5 separate regions of the Homo sapiens genome follow, and all the other regions are linked to region 4. Evidence: promoter capture Hi-C in 16 types of primary human blood cells and fetal thymus (Javierre and others, 2016). All regions are on one chromosome and are shown on one strand. Each heading gives the region's core, a stretch centred on a gene start or on the middle of the fragment in contact. The rest is flanking DNA. Distances are from core to core; before and after follow the strand shown.

The links. The method cuts DNA at HindIII sites, captures the fragments that hold promoters and counts their contacts. A CHiCAGO score of 5 or more calls a contact.
Region 1: a contact is called between a fragment that was not itself captured here and the fragment with the promoter of GALC in region 4, in 1 of 17 cell types (total CD4 T cells). The highest score is 5.2, in total CD4 T cells.
Region 2: a contact is called between a fragment that was not itself captured here and the fragment with the promoter of GALC in region 4, in 1 of 17 cell types (total B cells). The highest score is 6.2, in total B cells.
Region 3: the fragment with the promoter of TSHR here is called in contact with the fragment with the promoter of GALC in region 4 in 1 of 17 cell types (total B cells); the score reaches 6.5 in total B cells.
Region 5: a fragment that was not itself captured here is called in contact with the fragment with the promoter of GALC in region 4 in 4 of 17 cell types (total B cells, non-activated CD4 T cells, activated CD4 T cells and 1 more); the score reaches 5.7 in total B cells.

Annotation. Positions count from the first base shown.
Region 1 is chr14:80,935,012-80,937,711 of GRCh38, reverse strand. The region is part of intron 2 of CEP128 (centrosomal protein 128); the gene reads left to right. Among named protein-coding and RNA genes, the nearest start is that of CEP128, 5.4 kb to the left of the region's middle. The HindIII fragment of the contact is 652 bases long and covers 1,100-1,751 here.
Region 2 is chr14:93,334,634-93,337,333 of GRCh38, reverse strand. It overlaps a transcript of UNC79 not described here. Among named protein-coding and RNA genes, the nearest start is that of BTBD7, 2.9 kb to the right of the region's middle. The HindIII fragment of the contact is 3,744 bases long and covers 1-2,700 here.
Region 3 is chr14:80,954,298-80,956,997 of GRCh38, reverse strand. It overlaps TSHR (thyroid stimulating hormone receptor), which reads right to left and starts at 1,377. Exons shown (of 10, transcript NM_000369.5): 1 at 1,148-1,377. The coding sequence starts at 1,317. It also overlaps a transcript of CEP128 not described here. The HindIII fragment of the contact is 2,816 bases long and covers 1-2,574 here.
Region 4 is chr14:87,991,896-87,994,595 of GRCh38, reverse strand. It overlaps GALC (galactosylceramidase), which reads left to right and starts at 1,414. Exons shown (of 17, transcript NM_000153.4): 1 at 1,414-1,626. The coding sequence starts at 1,432. RefSeq lists enhancers at 1,077-1,406, 1,101-1,601 and a silencer at 1,557-1,746. The HindIII fragment of the contact is 1,583 bases long and covers 851-2,433 here.
Region 5 is chr14:93,961,987-93,964,686 of GRCh38, reverse strand. It overlaps ASB2 (ankyrin repeat and SOCS box containing 2), which reads left to right. Exons shown (of 10, transcript NM_001202429.2): 2 at 75-353. The coding sequence starts at 148. Among named protein-coding and RNA genes, the nearest start is that of ASB2, 13 kb to the left of the region's middle. RefSeq lists enhancers at 1,204-1,704, 1,705-2,205. The HindIII fragment of the contact is 4,504 bases long and covers 1-2,700 here.

The DNA of each region.
Region 1 (2,700 bases), core at 176-2,675, 7.1 Mb after region 4:
ACATTCATACTATTGTATAGTATGTTTTTCTTTTTTCGTAAAATGTATTGTTACAGGTCAGCACTTACCATTCAACCTTGTCTCTTTTAGCAGATACATAGTATCCCAGTGATTAGATACATTTATTGTATGCTTATCCAGTGGATTTATATTTTTTTCTTATTCTTTTACAACTGTAAAAAAATTCATTCACTCTGTTGCCCAGGCTGGAGTGAATGAATGTGCTCATGGATGAATGGATGAGTGAATTAAAATTTCTGAAGAATTTCTACAGTGAAATTCTTATGCATATGTCTATACATAAAATATATATAAATATTTTATCTTCCTAGGTTAATAGTCATAGAAATAGATTTTCTGGGTCAACGTCTATGTATATTACAGATTGATTGAGACAGGGTCTCACTCTGTCACCCAGGCTGAAGTGCAGTGGTGCTATCTTGGCTCACTGTAGCCTCTACCTCCCAGGTTTGAGAAATCCTCTCACATCAGCCTCCCGAGTAGTTAGGACTACAGGTGTGCACTACCACACCTGGCTAATTTTGTTTTATTTTTTTGTAGAGACAAGGTCTCACTGTGTTGCCCAGGCTCATCTCGAACGCTTGGGCTCAAGCAATCCTCCTACCTTGGCCTCCCAAAATACTGTGATTACAGGCATGGGCCACTGCGCCTGGCCCGTATTATTTATTTTTACTTGTATTGCCAGGTTGTTCTCCAGAAAAGCTAATGTGGTTTTTTTTTTTTAAATTTTTAATTTTTGTGGGTACATAGTAGATATACATGCTAATGTAGTTTTTATAGTTAATACTCTTACAACAAGGTATAACCTTGCTAACCCTGCGAGTGAGAGGTTTTTTCATCTGTATAAAACAGATAGATAAGAATATCATTTTATTATTTTAATTTGTAATTATTTAGTGAAATAACAAATAACATTTGTTAGGGTCATTTGATTTCTGTGAATTGTCTGCTTATGTATCTTTTGAGTCTTTTACAACTGGACTGTTCTTTTTCTTGTGTTTTTGAAAGAGCTGATTAACCCTTTGGTTCCCATATAATGCAAATATTTTTGTGAGTTTTTCTTTTAGTTTTTAAAGCTTGTTTCTGGTATCTTGTTATCACTAATTATGAATGACTCAGAGACTTGTCAGGCCTTTATCGGATATGCACACCTCTCTGAAATTTCTATAATGCTAGTGCTTGGGGTATTTGGGAGATGGGAGTATTTGTGGTTACATGAATCCATTTAATTCATTCTGATAAACATTTTCCCATCCCTCCTTCCCTCCTTCCCTGTCTTCCTTCCTTCCTCTCTTTCTCTCTTTCTTTTGAGATGAAGTCTTGTTCTGTAACTCATGCTGGAGTGCAGTGGTGTCATCTTGGATCACTGCAGCCTCGACCTCCCAGGTTCAAGTGATCCTCCCACTTTGGCCTGTCAAAGTGCTGTGATTGCAGGCCTGAGCCACTGTGCCTGGCCTGATAAACATTTAGAATCTACTCTGCATACAGGGTTTGCTGTGAAACAGGTGCTCATGAATGGATGAATAAGTGCTTGTGAACGAATGTGCTCATGAATGAATGGATGAGCTTTAATTCTGTACTTCCCAGGCACTGGTCCATTTGATTCTGTCTCCTGCTCTGAAGTGCTGGAGCAGGGTGGACTCCTGATGAAATTAGAGCAAAAATACAGCCTGGAACTGAGCCTGCTAGGTTTTGGTTATGGAATAGAGATGTCTGTGTGTAAGAAAGCTTTCTACTTTTTTGAGTTTGGGCAAGTTAACTTTTGGAAGTTGTTTCCTTACCTGTCATATTGATTACAGCTATGTTTACTCTAGGGCTACTGTTGGGGTTACATTAGTTAATACAAGTAAAGTGCTTAGAACAGAGCCTGGCACAGAAAAGGGCCATTTAATTGTTGAATTATTAGTATTATTGCTTATTTTGGCTTCTACCATGATGACCACCACCACCACTACCATCATTATTGTATTCTTTAAAAACGATTAATTTCTGTTTCACTTAAGCTAGCTCATGTGTGTTCTGTTTTTTTTTTTTTTTTTTTTTTGGTGGGGGGACTCATAGCTTGAATACAACAATAAGTACTTTATTTTTATTTATTTATTTATTTATTTATTTATTTATTTATTTATTTATTGAGACAGACTCTTACTCTGTCTTACTCCAGAAGGCTGGAGTGCAGTGGTGCAATCTCGGCTCACTGCAACCTCTGCCTTCTGGGTTCAAACAATTCTCCTGCCTCAGCCTCTCAAATAGCAGGGATTACAGGTGCTCAGCACCACACCCAGCTAATTATTGTAGTTTTAGTAGAGGCAGGGTTTCACCATGCTGGCCAGGCTGGTCTTGAACTCCTGACCTCAAGTGATCCACCCACCTTGGCCTCCAAAAGTGCTGGGATTATAGGCATGAGCCACTGTGCCCAGCCAAGCACTTTATTCTTATCAGCTTATTTTGCTTTTAGGGAAGAGTACCTTTACTCATTGGTATACCTGTTTTTCATTTGTTTGTTTGTTTTTGTTTTTTGCTTTCTCACCACTGCCATTTACATGTAACAAGTGTACTGATTAAAAAGTTGGGTTTCGGAAATAGTCTTCTTGCCTGGATTTGAATCCTGGCTCTGCCACTTAAGTTACTTTGCTCCTTTAAGCCTTAGTTCTGTTTTCTGTAAAATGGGGATGATAA
Region 2 (2,700 bases), core at 119-2,618, 5.3 Mb before region 4:
GGAGGGGAAACAAACTTAAGAAGAGCTTTTTTGGGCAACCAAACAGCTCTCAGAGGAGCCAAGACCCAAAGTGCGTAGACTCTATGAGTCTGTGAGTTAGGCTGGGTCTGGGGGTTTTTATTGGCTCAGAATGAAGTGCATGCTGATTGGTCCATGGGCAGGAAGAAATGCATGCTAATTGGTCTGTGGGCGGGCCTGGAAAAAGCACTACTTTATTGGCTGAAAGGCATCAAGGAAGTTCTCACTCCAGGTCGTGGACTTCACTGGGAACTGGCAGCCTGGCCCCCAGGCTTTAGGCCATCTCTGGTTTGAAGGTGGGGTTTCACCAGGGACCCACCCCTTCCCACCTAGGAACCTGTCTGCCTCCCACCACCATCACAAGGGGATAGTGTGAAGCCATTCATGAGGGATCTGCCTTCATGATCCAAACACCTCCCACCAGGTCCCACTTCCAACACTGGCGATTACATTTCAACATGAGATTTGGAGGGGACAAACATCCAAACCATATCAGTACATTTTGATGCACTTAAGTTCATATTTTAAATACAGTTGAATCTATGAATCTTGTCTTCATGATTAATGTTTTCTGTGACTTGCTTGTCTTTTCTTCCCCAAGGCAATGAATATTTTCCAATATTATTTTCTAAAACCTTTATTAATTGTATTATTTGTTAATTTAATAATTATTAAGGCCATGTGCAGTGGCTCACGCCTGTAATCCTAGCACTTTGGGAGGCCAAGGTGGGCGGATCACGAGGTCAGGAGTTTGAGACCAGCCTGGCCAACATGGTGAAACCCTGTCTCTACTAAAAATACAAAAAATTAGTCAGGCATGGTGGCACGCACCTGTAATCCCAGCTACTCGGGAGGCTGAGGCAGGAGAATCACTTGAACCCAGGAGGCGGAGGTTGCACTGAGCTGAGATTGCGTCATTGCACTCCAGCCTGGGTGACAGAGCAAGACTCTGTCTCAAGAAAAAAAAAAATTGAAAATTGAATAATTATTAAGCACTTCTTAATTAAGCATCTACAAGGTACTTATCACTGTTCTGGGGTTTTCAATCCTCTTCACCTTTTAGACTTCAGGAAATTCAGAAAAATGCATGAAAACAGGATTGTTACATGCAGAGAAATAGGGGGAGATAAAATTTGTCTTTTCTCCTTAATTTCAAAAACCCAGCTTCCATCCTGTATTTCCAGGAAGATGAGTGTGGGAATGGGTTTCAGTGGATGGTTATGTGTGGTAAAAAAGGGGGGTACAAAGGAAGGAAAAGACTGGAGTGACAGACCATGGAATATACCATGAAATGTTGATTACTCTTATTTTCAACATAGATGACCAGGTGGATGGGATGCCATTCACTGATGGAGGGAGTGGAGAAAGGAACAAAACATAAATTCAGGACTTTTGGTTGAAAGCCACAGAAGTTCACTGTTTTTACCCATTTCCAACTAACTTAAGATAAAAAGAGGTGTTAGGGCAACTTAATGGCTTCTAAAAATGAAAAGACCAGGGATGGGTTGGTTTCAGGCCCAGGTAGGCCCAGGTATTCAAATGATGTCATGGTTTTCCTTTCTCTCACTTTGTTTCTTTGTTTATGGTCTTCCTCCTTTCCTACCGCACATGGCTTTCTCCTCATTGGCAAACAAAGCCAATTTACATGTCCTTTCGAGTCATAATCCCGGAGAAATAGAGTAAGAAGAAACATCTCCTCTGAGAGTGTGGCAAAAATTTCCAGAAAAGGTTCTGGTTGACCTATTTGTGTCATATGGCCATCCAGATCTATCTGATTCTAGAATGCATGCTGTTAACCACTACTTAGTACCATCTTAACACTAGCCTTAAAAAAATGTTTTTCACTCTGTCTTCTTATTTAGATTCTAAGCTCCTTAAGTACAAAGATCCATTTATTTTTTACCCCCAGCATGTAGTACCGTGCTTGGCACATGGTACTGGATACTTTAAATGTGTATCGGACTGAACTAAAATAAACATCTAAATTCTGATGAGTGTGTAAACTGAGCTAATTCAGGATCTCAAAAGTACAGTTAAATGGTATAATAAGGAAACAGTGAATGAATTAAAGGGTAGAAAAAAATCATGGATCACTTACAAATGGTTTCTAGATCCAAACAGTCTACTAGAAGTCTCCAGCTGTGCAGATAGACAAAAGGACAAGGTGCAACCAGCAGACCTTACTTGGCTTTTCAAAAAGTTTTAGATTTCCACATCAAAGGCTGTTAGAAAAAGTGTTATCCTGAAATTACTTAGAATTCTATTGTTGTTGATACCATTTTAATTTTGTTTTTTAAATTGTGGCTAGGAAATAGAAGCAAAGTCAAGTAATAAAGGTTAGTAATAAGTGTAAACAGTGGGGACTGATCTTATTTAACATTTCCATAAATTATAAAGAAGCAGTGTTTACACACCGCTTTTTAGTTTGCTAATCATAGCTCTTTCAGTTAATGCAATACAGTCATCCCCCATATACTATATACGTGGGATTGGTTCCAGGACCCACCACATATACCCCAATCCAAGCATACTCAAGTCTGCCTGTCCGTCCTGTGGAATGTGAGTATAAGAAAAGTCGGCCCTCTCAATACGGTGTTTAGAATCCCATGTACCAGGTTGCATTGATCGATCCGCACAGTTCAAACCCGTGTTGTTCAAGTGTTAACTGTATTTAGCAAATTA
Region 3 (2,700 bases), core at 128-2,627, 7.0 Mb after region 4:
AGAATTTTATTCTAGAGGTGACAAGCAACCTATGTAGAGGTGTAATCAAGAGGCCATTACACCTTTTACACATCTTATTCTGTGGTGGCAGCATGGAGAATGACTACCACACTGTTTGGAGGTTATTGAACTAATTAATTCAGGTGTGCTAAGACACTAGGATATCTCTGAGCACAGAAATATATCTCTGTGCTCAAATATTCATCTACTGTTAAATAGTCTTCATGAGCTAAATTCTTGAGAAAATCTAGAGGTGCAACTTTCCCATTTCTTTTCATCTATCAACATTTTCTTTAATAACCTGCATTTTTTTTTATCTTAACTGGATTTAACCAGCCTAGGTTGTTTTACTGTCCTTTCTTTCTGTTCTCTTTTTAACTAATCAAGACAGACTTTATTCCCTTGGTTTTGTCTACAATTTCAATGATCACTGATTTAAATTGCTGTTAAGAAACAGGTTGTGTGTGTATAATCTTATTTAACATCAGGTTTCTAATCTGGTAACATTTAACATGCAGATAAATGTACTATACTTTTATGAAATTTCATTTCTTTATACCTCTATCACAAAGCAGGGTTCTGGACGTACTATTTCACTGGCAGTTCACATTTGAGTAAGTAACTTACAGATACTGTATAGACAGTTCATTTTAAAAAGGGCCCCTGCTTAAACCTTTGTCAACAATTTGATGAATCAGCAGAACTGCTAAGATAACCTCCCATCTAGAGAAACAAAAAGGAGAAATACATATTTTTGCAATTTTTTATTACCCAAGGTAAGATCAAAAAGGTCAGTTCCTGAGATGCCATTATCCTTATTAATTCAAATAAAACAGATTCAACCAGGGTTAGGCAAAGTGCTGAATAGCAGCTTGTTGGAAAGAACAGCTCTCACGGTCATTGTACACCAAAGTTTTGTAACATTTTCCTGTGTTGGGAATGAGGATGTCAACAATGATACCTTCCCAAGTGTGGGCGATTAAGTTTTTAGCACACACACACATCTACACACACAGACATTCACTCACACATACACACACTCACACACTACTTCGGGCTGTTATTGAGCTGCTTTTGTGCACTTCGGGCCACCTCTGCAGATGCCCTTGATCTCTGGGTCCTACCCTGATCTCTCCCGGGTACTCACAGAGTCTGCGTACTGGGCGGTAAGCTGGGGATGCGTTGAATATCCTTGCAGGTGACTCTGAAGTCCTCCTCCTGATGGCACTCGCAGGGTGGAGACGAACACCCCATTCCGCCCAGGTCCCTGGGCAGGTCGAGCAGCAGCACCAGCTGCAGCAAGTCCGCCGGCCTCATTTTCCACGGGACTCGGGGCTATTTCTCCATCCTCCGAAATCGCCTCATTCTCAGCTCTGCACCTCGGGTTACCCCAGGCCAAAGGAGACCCGGGAGCGGGAGGGGTGGGAAGAGGGAGGGCTCCAAGGGGCTGTGACCTCACCACTGTGGAGGAGGCTGGAGAAGGGGAAAAAGAGGCACTTAAGTGCTCCGCTTCCCTAGGCAACCTTGACCCAAACAAGTCTGCTTGCTTCACTTTCCTTGGCTGGACCCACGCAGTCCGCTCCGTCTGTTCCCTGACACCCAACACCAGTCCTGGCTGTCCCCTCTGTTTTCCAGCCCGCCCCCCCACCCCGGGCGCCCCTCCCATTAGTTCTCTCCAAAGCCTAGTTTAGATGCCCCCTCCTTTCCTCCTCTTTAAATCCAAGGAGCCACCTTCCCTAGCGTGTAGCCTTCTAGACACCCTGTCTGCCTGGGAGCCACTCGCACGCACTCCTTATCCAGAGAAAGTCCCCGCGGAGTGGACTGTCCGCGGGCGGACCAATGTCCTGCAGAACTTCAGCTCCTCCTGGCCAGAGACACCTCTGCTGAGGGTCAGAGGCGGGCACGCAGCCCTGGCTAGCCCGCGGTGCGGCCGAAGCCGTCGCCCTGCACCCCTGGAGGATTCTCGTTGCTATCCAACTGCAGGGGCCACTCCGGTGGTTGAGTCGACTGGCAGCGGCCGCCTCACGTTGCAGCCCGCGGCTCCGCGAGGCAATTCAGGAACTGAACTTTGGGGCCATCTGCTGGGAAGAATCGGGAATGGCAGAAATAATTCCAGGTTCCCTTAATAATGGGTCCAGTATGGAAATTCTGGTCGACCCAAGAATTTCATTGAGTCATATTCCCCCTGGAAGATGGGAAGAAAAATAATACTTAAGTGGCATACTCACCATTCTTCGCACAGTAGCCAAAAAGATCATTACAAACATAAATCAGATTGTGCCTATTTCCTTCTTAAAAGTCTTCAATCACTTATTCCTCTTGGGATAAAAGGAATGTCAATTCCTTCTATACTGCATAATTCCTTTTATATGAACTTGGCTAGGACAGGAAGGAAAAAGTTGTGGTTATGGGAATCAGAATAAAGGTTAGGAAAGATTGACTAGAAAAAGACAGGAGGGAACACACAGGGTTTCCATATCGTAATTAGGCTGGAGGTTAAGTGGATGTATACATTTATCAAAATTCATTAAACCGTACATTTAAAATATGTGTATTCCAAATTTTACAGAAGCTTTATTCATAACCACTAAACGAACCAAGTGTCTCGCGACTAGATAATGGATAAACAAACTCTGATACCTCCACATTGGAATACTATTCTGCAATAAAAATGAATGAACTGCTGATACAACATGCACA
Region 4 (2,700 bases), core at 165-2,664:
AGGGGCAAAATAATCAGATTCCAAATAGGGTTCTGCAGACAAATCCCACAGGTCCTAAAGTCTCTGGGTCTTTTCCTTGCCATTGTGGTATCTCAGGGGCTTGTGTAGGCAATGATAACCAGTTCCATACTTCTGCTAAGAGAAATTTGGGGATCAGAAAATCTTTCTCTGCAGCTCTTCAGAGTCTCTTTAATTTACTTCAATAACAAGGAAATCAGAAATCTCAGGACAGTGCTGGATGTGGCAGAAATTCAGGGCAATTCACAACTTTCCTACCAATTTAGAGTTACCTGTCTGGAATCACTTCAACTGACAGTGGAAGATAGTTTATAAAATTGTAGGGGAGGCAAAATTTCACCTTCGTCCCTGTAGGGTCCCAGCATGGCCCTAGTATTAAATTGATTTAAGATATTAATAGACTGACAGGAGACAACCACACAAATGTTTATTTTACATAGCACGGGGGCCCTCATTAAAAAAAAAAAAGACCTAAAGCAGCAGTTAAGAGCCAATTGCTTATAGAGTGAAATGGACAAAAAATAGTAGTTGTGAAACATGATAAGGCGAAGGGGCTTGGGGTAAAGAAGCGACTAGAAAGATAGGGATTAACAAATTTTGTTTGGACAGATTTCCCTCGACTTCAACTTTCTGTCCTTGAAGATAACAATGTTATTTTATAGGGAAGACATCTTTCACATGGGAATTTCATCTCCTCCTTTTAAGACACATAATATCCATGACAGTGATCTTGCACCTGCTGTTTTTAAGTGCCTTTAATTTAAAATAGTCAATATGCCACAGCAGCATATTTTGAGGTGGTATATTATTAACTCCTTCAAGGCTAAAAGCTTTGAATATGCCGGGGTAGTTACCAGACTGGAGAACCTTCTCAGCTATTTGCCACTTGTGGAATGCATTCAAATGTACTGAGTGCTTATTAACTTTTCTCTCAGTCCCTCACTCTGCTGCTCTTCTCGCCTCATCTCACATAAGGGAAAACTCAGGCTCCAAAAGCAAAGTGATTCCACCAAGATGACAATGGAATCGGGACCTGGTGTCCAAGCCTGGTCCTCGCACGAGGTAGATACTCCCTGAGATGCTGGGGAAGAGCCATGGTAGGGCCACTCATGGCCCTCTTCCTTTGGCGGACCTTGGAATCCACCTTCCCTGCGTTAAAGTGCTCCACCAGGTGACGCCGGAAGAGAAGCCAGCAGTAAGTACATGTGAAATCCAGTAGCTGACCACAGACACGCGAGCGATAAGAAAAAGCTCGCTGCTTCTTTTCTCAACACTCCGCCAGCTGCGTCAGAGGCCCTTGACCCGCACTCAAAATGGCGGCGGCGGCGTCAGCATCAGCGGCCTCCTGCCCGTATCTATCGTGGCGGCGACGGGACCCGCCTCCCTGGGCGCCGGAGTCATGTGACCCACACAATGGCTGAGTGGCTACTCTCGGCTTCCTGGCAACGCCGAGCGAAAGCTATGACTGCGGCCGCGGGTTCGGCGGGCCGCGCCGCGGTGCCCTTGCTGCTGTGTGCGCTGCTGGCGCCCGGCGGCGCGTACGTGCTCGACGACTCCGACGGGCTGGGCCGGGAGTTCGACGGCATCGGCGCGGTCAGCGGCGGCGGGGTGAGCGGCAAGCTGCGGGGATACGCGGGGGGCGGCAAGAGCCCGCCCCGTGGGGCCAGCCCCACAAGCCCCCGCGGCGTTGCCCTGCGTTTCCACCGGCTCCACTCTCCGCCGCATTCCCCTAGGGTGCCAGTCAGCAGGCGGTTGGGGCGGGCCCGCTGCGGGGCTGGGGCGGGTGCTTTCTCGTTTAACACGAACCAGACAGGCAGTTAGGTTTGAACAAATGAGGATCCGGAGGTCCAGAGAGTATAGGTGCAGAGAGTAAAGTGACAGGTCTAAGTAGTGAAGTAGCCGGGGCTGGAACCCTCGTCCCAGGCAGTGGGGCACAGGCTGTCTTCATCGCGGAGATGGCAGTCGGGGAGCGTCGCTCCAGAAAGGGCCAGGGAGTGCGGGAGCGTCCGTGTGCGAAAGAGAACGCCCCAGTGGGATGCTTTGGCTGTGTCTCTCCCTTTTGGAGGAGTTGGTGGGTGGTGGAGTCGTTAAGTCCCGTGCAGTTGTTAGTGCAGGGTAAGAATGGGCTCCTCCAGAGAGGGTAGCGCCGAATAGGATTTCGTTTGGAGGCAGGACTGGTGCCTCAAGGTCTCTTTAAAAGGAAGATAAGCGAGCGGCCTGAAACTACCGGGTACTCCCTCTGGGCCCATGGGCTTCATGGTGGCCGACCTTTGGGTGAGAAGGTTTTTGTTTTTTGGTTTTGTATCCGAAATTACATCTAGGGCTAATGTTTCTTGAAAATGTTAAGGTTGAACTCGGATTTTTGGGGTTGAGTTGGATGGAGCTTGCATCCTTACATTCAACTCAGAACAAGCTTGAATGCCTGCTGCAAGGATGACCTGGTCTGTAGTGTGACCACAAGATATAACCTTCTGCTAGGGGAAATTTTTTTCCCCCTGGAGTTAGCTGATCCTTTTTGATTTTTATGTTTTCATTCCCTAATTTGCAATCTCTCCAGCCGTGCTGATGTGTATTTCAGGGGAAACCTGTGGGCCGATGAGTTAATGCATTTATTCTTTGCTACTACTATTCTCCTTTTTATGTTTTTGGGCTAAACCTGAAACAGCCAATATTTCATGGAGT
Region 5 (2,700 bases), core at 113-2,612, 6.0 Mb before region 4:
TACCCTTCCCTGAGGGTAAATATAGCTATCCTGCAAAACTGTTCGTGACCAGGATGGTTTTGGTTTCCTCACAGGGTTTTCTGATTTGCTGTTCCCTCCTCCCCACTGGGTGTCTGTTCTGGAGGCCAGGGTGAGAGGTGGAGGAGGATGGCCACGCAGATCAGCACTCGGGGCAGCCAGTGTACCATTGGGCAGGAGGAGTACAGCCTGTACAGCAGCCTGAGCGAGGATGAACTGGTGCAGATGGCCATCGAGCAGAGCCTAGCGGACAAGACAAGGGGCCCAACCACTGCTGAGGCCACCGCGTCTGCATGTACCAACCGCCAACCTGCCCATTTCTACCCATGGACCAGGTGAGCAAGGCGAGGCTGATGAGGGAAGTGGGGCCATCCAGGACATCCACAGACTGTAGATCCCTAATGCTGTTAATCCAAAACCACGGTATCCTGGTCTCTAGGTTGCTTTTCACACCTTTCCCATTTACATTTGTTATCTGAACTTACCAAGCTCTGGCTGTGCCAGGTACTGAAGTGGGTGCTATACACACTCTGCCTCCTTTCATCCGCTTAAGGACCCTCTCAGTGGGCTCTGGGTTATAGACCCATTTAAAAGAGGAGACTGAAGCTCAGGGCTGAAAAAGAGGCCCGAGGTCACATAGCCAGTAGATAATGCTGCCGAGATCAGAGCTGCCTGGCTCCCTATCTTACAACACAGCCTCCCTTGAAAAACATATCTGGTGAGCAAGGGATGTCTGCCCAGCAGAGCCATCCTGTCTCCTTCTTCTGGCTCCCCACTCTCAGCCCCACCTCATCCTCTCAGTCACAGGACTTTCTAAAGCAGCGCCATCCAGATATGACACCACCCACAACTGCAATGCACGGATGCAATTTTAAAGGTTCCAACAGCCAAAAAAGTAAAGAGAAACAGGTGAAATTAATTTTCATTGATAGTTCACATCTGAAGTATCACCATTTCCACCAAGAGACTTATATTTCCATCAATATAAAATTATGAATCAGATTGTTACCATTTCTTTTTGCCCATCAAGTCTTTGAAATCCAGTGTGTATTTTACACTCACAGCCCATCTTGATTCAGACTGGCCACGTTTCAAGCGCTCCCTAGCACATGTGGCCAATGACTACCTTATCAGACGGTGCAGATCTAGACGACACCTCCTTTGTAGGAGGTGGGAGCTAGAGAGGTGATTAAGCAGAGCGGTGATTGATCTCAAAATGCATTTGGAAAAGACCTCTATAAGCCATAAAATTGCTTTTGCTCCTCACCCCCGTCCCCAGCCAAGGTCAAGTGTGTTTGGGCATGAATGGCAGGGCATGGGAATTGCTGTGACAATTGTGTTGGTGTTACTTTGAGGCATAGGCCACAAATCTCATTGTGTACAGCAGCCAGCTGGCTCCCTGCGTGACCTCAGGCAAGTCACTTAACCTCTGAAAACCTCAGCTTCCTTCTCAAATAACAACAACAACAAACAGACTTTTTCCGATGTGCAGTCACAGTTGACAGGGGATGAAGGTGGGTGATGGTGCATCTCAGCCCTGTCCCCTAAGTGACTTTGCCCTTGCCGAGGCTGGACCATCTCTGTCAGGCTGGCTGGGCAGAGGCCCAGAGCTGAGGAGCCCCTTTTAAAGGGGAAGGCAGGCAGCTACTTTGGGCAGCCGGAAAGAGTACGAAGACTCCAGGTTACTAAGCTGCCCCCGAGGACGTTCCATTCTGAAACCCAATCTGAGAAACAGAAACCTGAAGCCAAGGACTGGGTTCATCTTGGCTCATGCTCAAGGTGGCCCTGGTTCCTGTTCTGGCCGGTTCAGCGGAAGACAGGCCACAAGTTCCTCTTCCTCAGGAGGGGGTCAGATAGAGATAGGGCATCCTTCCTCTGAAGACAGGGCCTGCTGCATGAAGCCAGCACGTCCCCTCAGGTGTCTGCAGCCTTCTCCCCAGCATAGGAGCCCCCTCAGGAGTCCCAGGGATGCTTGGACACATTAGAAAGAAGTGGGCCCTCGGCATCCAGACCCTGACTCTGCCTTCATCTGGAGGGTAAGGAAATGGAGGCCCACAGTGGGCCATGAACATTTATTCAGCTTCCTGCGGAAAAAGCTCTCCTAGAGAATTGAGACCATTTCTCCCAGGTCGAGCAGCCCTCATCTGAGGTCCAGCCCCACAAGCAATATAGCAGAGGAGGGTCAACCTGCATCTTGTTACTCTAGGAGTGACCTGAAACCTCCTAGGTTCGGTTCTGCGCCTTCGCCTCTGGAAGGAGGCTGGGCTTGGGCCCTGCTGGGAAGAAAAACCCCTTAGATAGAATGTTTAGGCGGATCACGAGGTCGGGAGATCGAGACCATCCCGGCTAAAACGGTGAAACCCCGTCTCTACTAAAAATACAAAAAATTAGCCGGGCGTAGTGGCGGGCGCCTGTAGTCCCAGCTACTTGGGAAGCTGAGGCAGGAGAATGGTGTGAACCCGGGAGGCGGAGCTTGCAGTGAGCCGAGATCCCGCCACTGCACTCCAGCCTGGGCGACAGAGCGAGACTCCATCTCAAAAAAAAAAAAAAAAAAAAAAAAAGAATGTTTAATGAAATTCTTCTCCCCCCAAATGCACATTGAGCACCTCCCATGTGCCTGCCACACATTAATTCACTTAATGTTTACAAAAGCCACCCAAAGTGGATTGCTTCTGTGCCCAT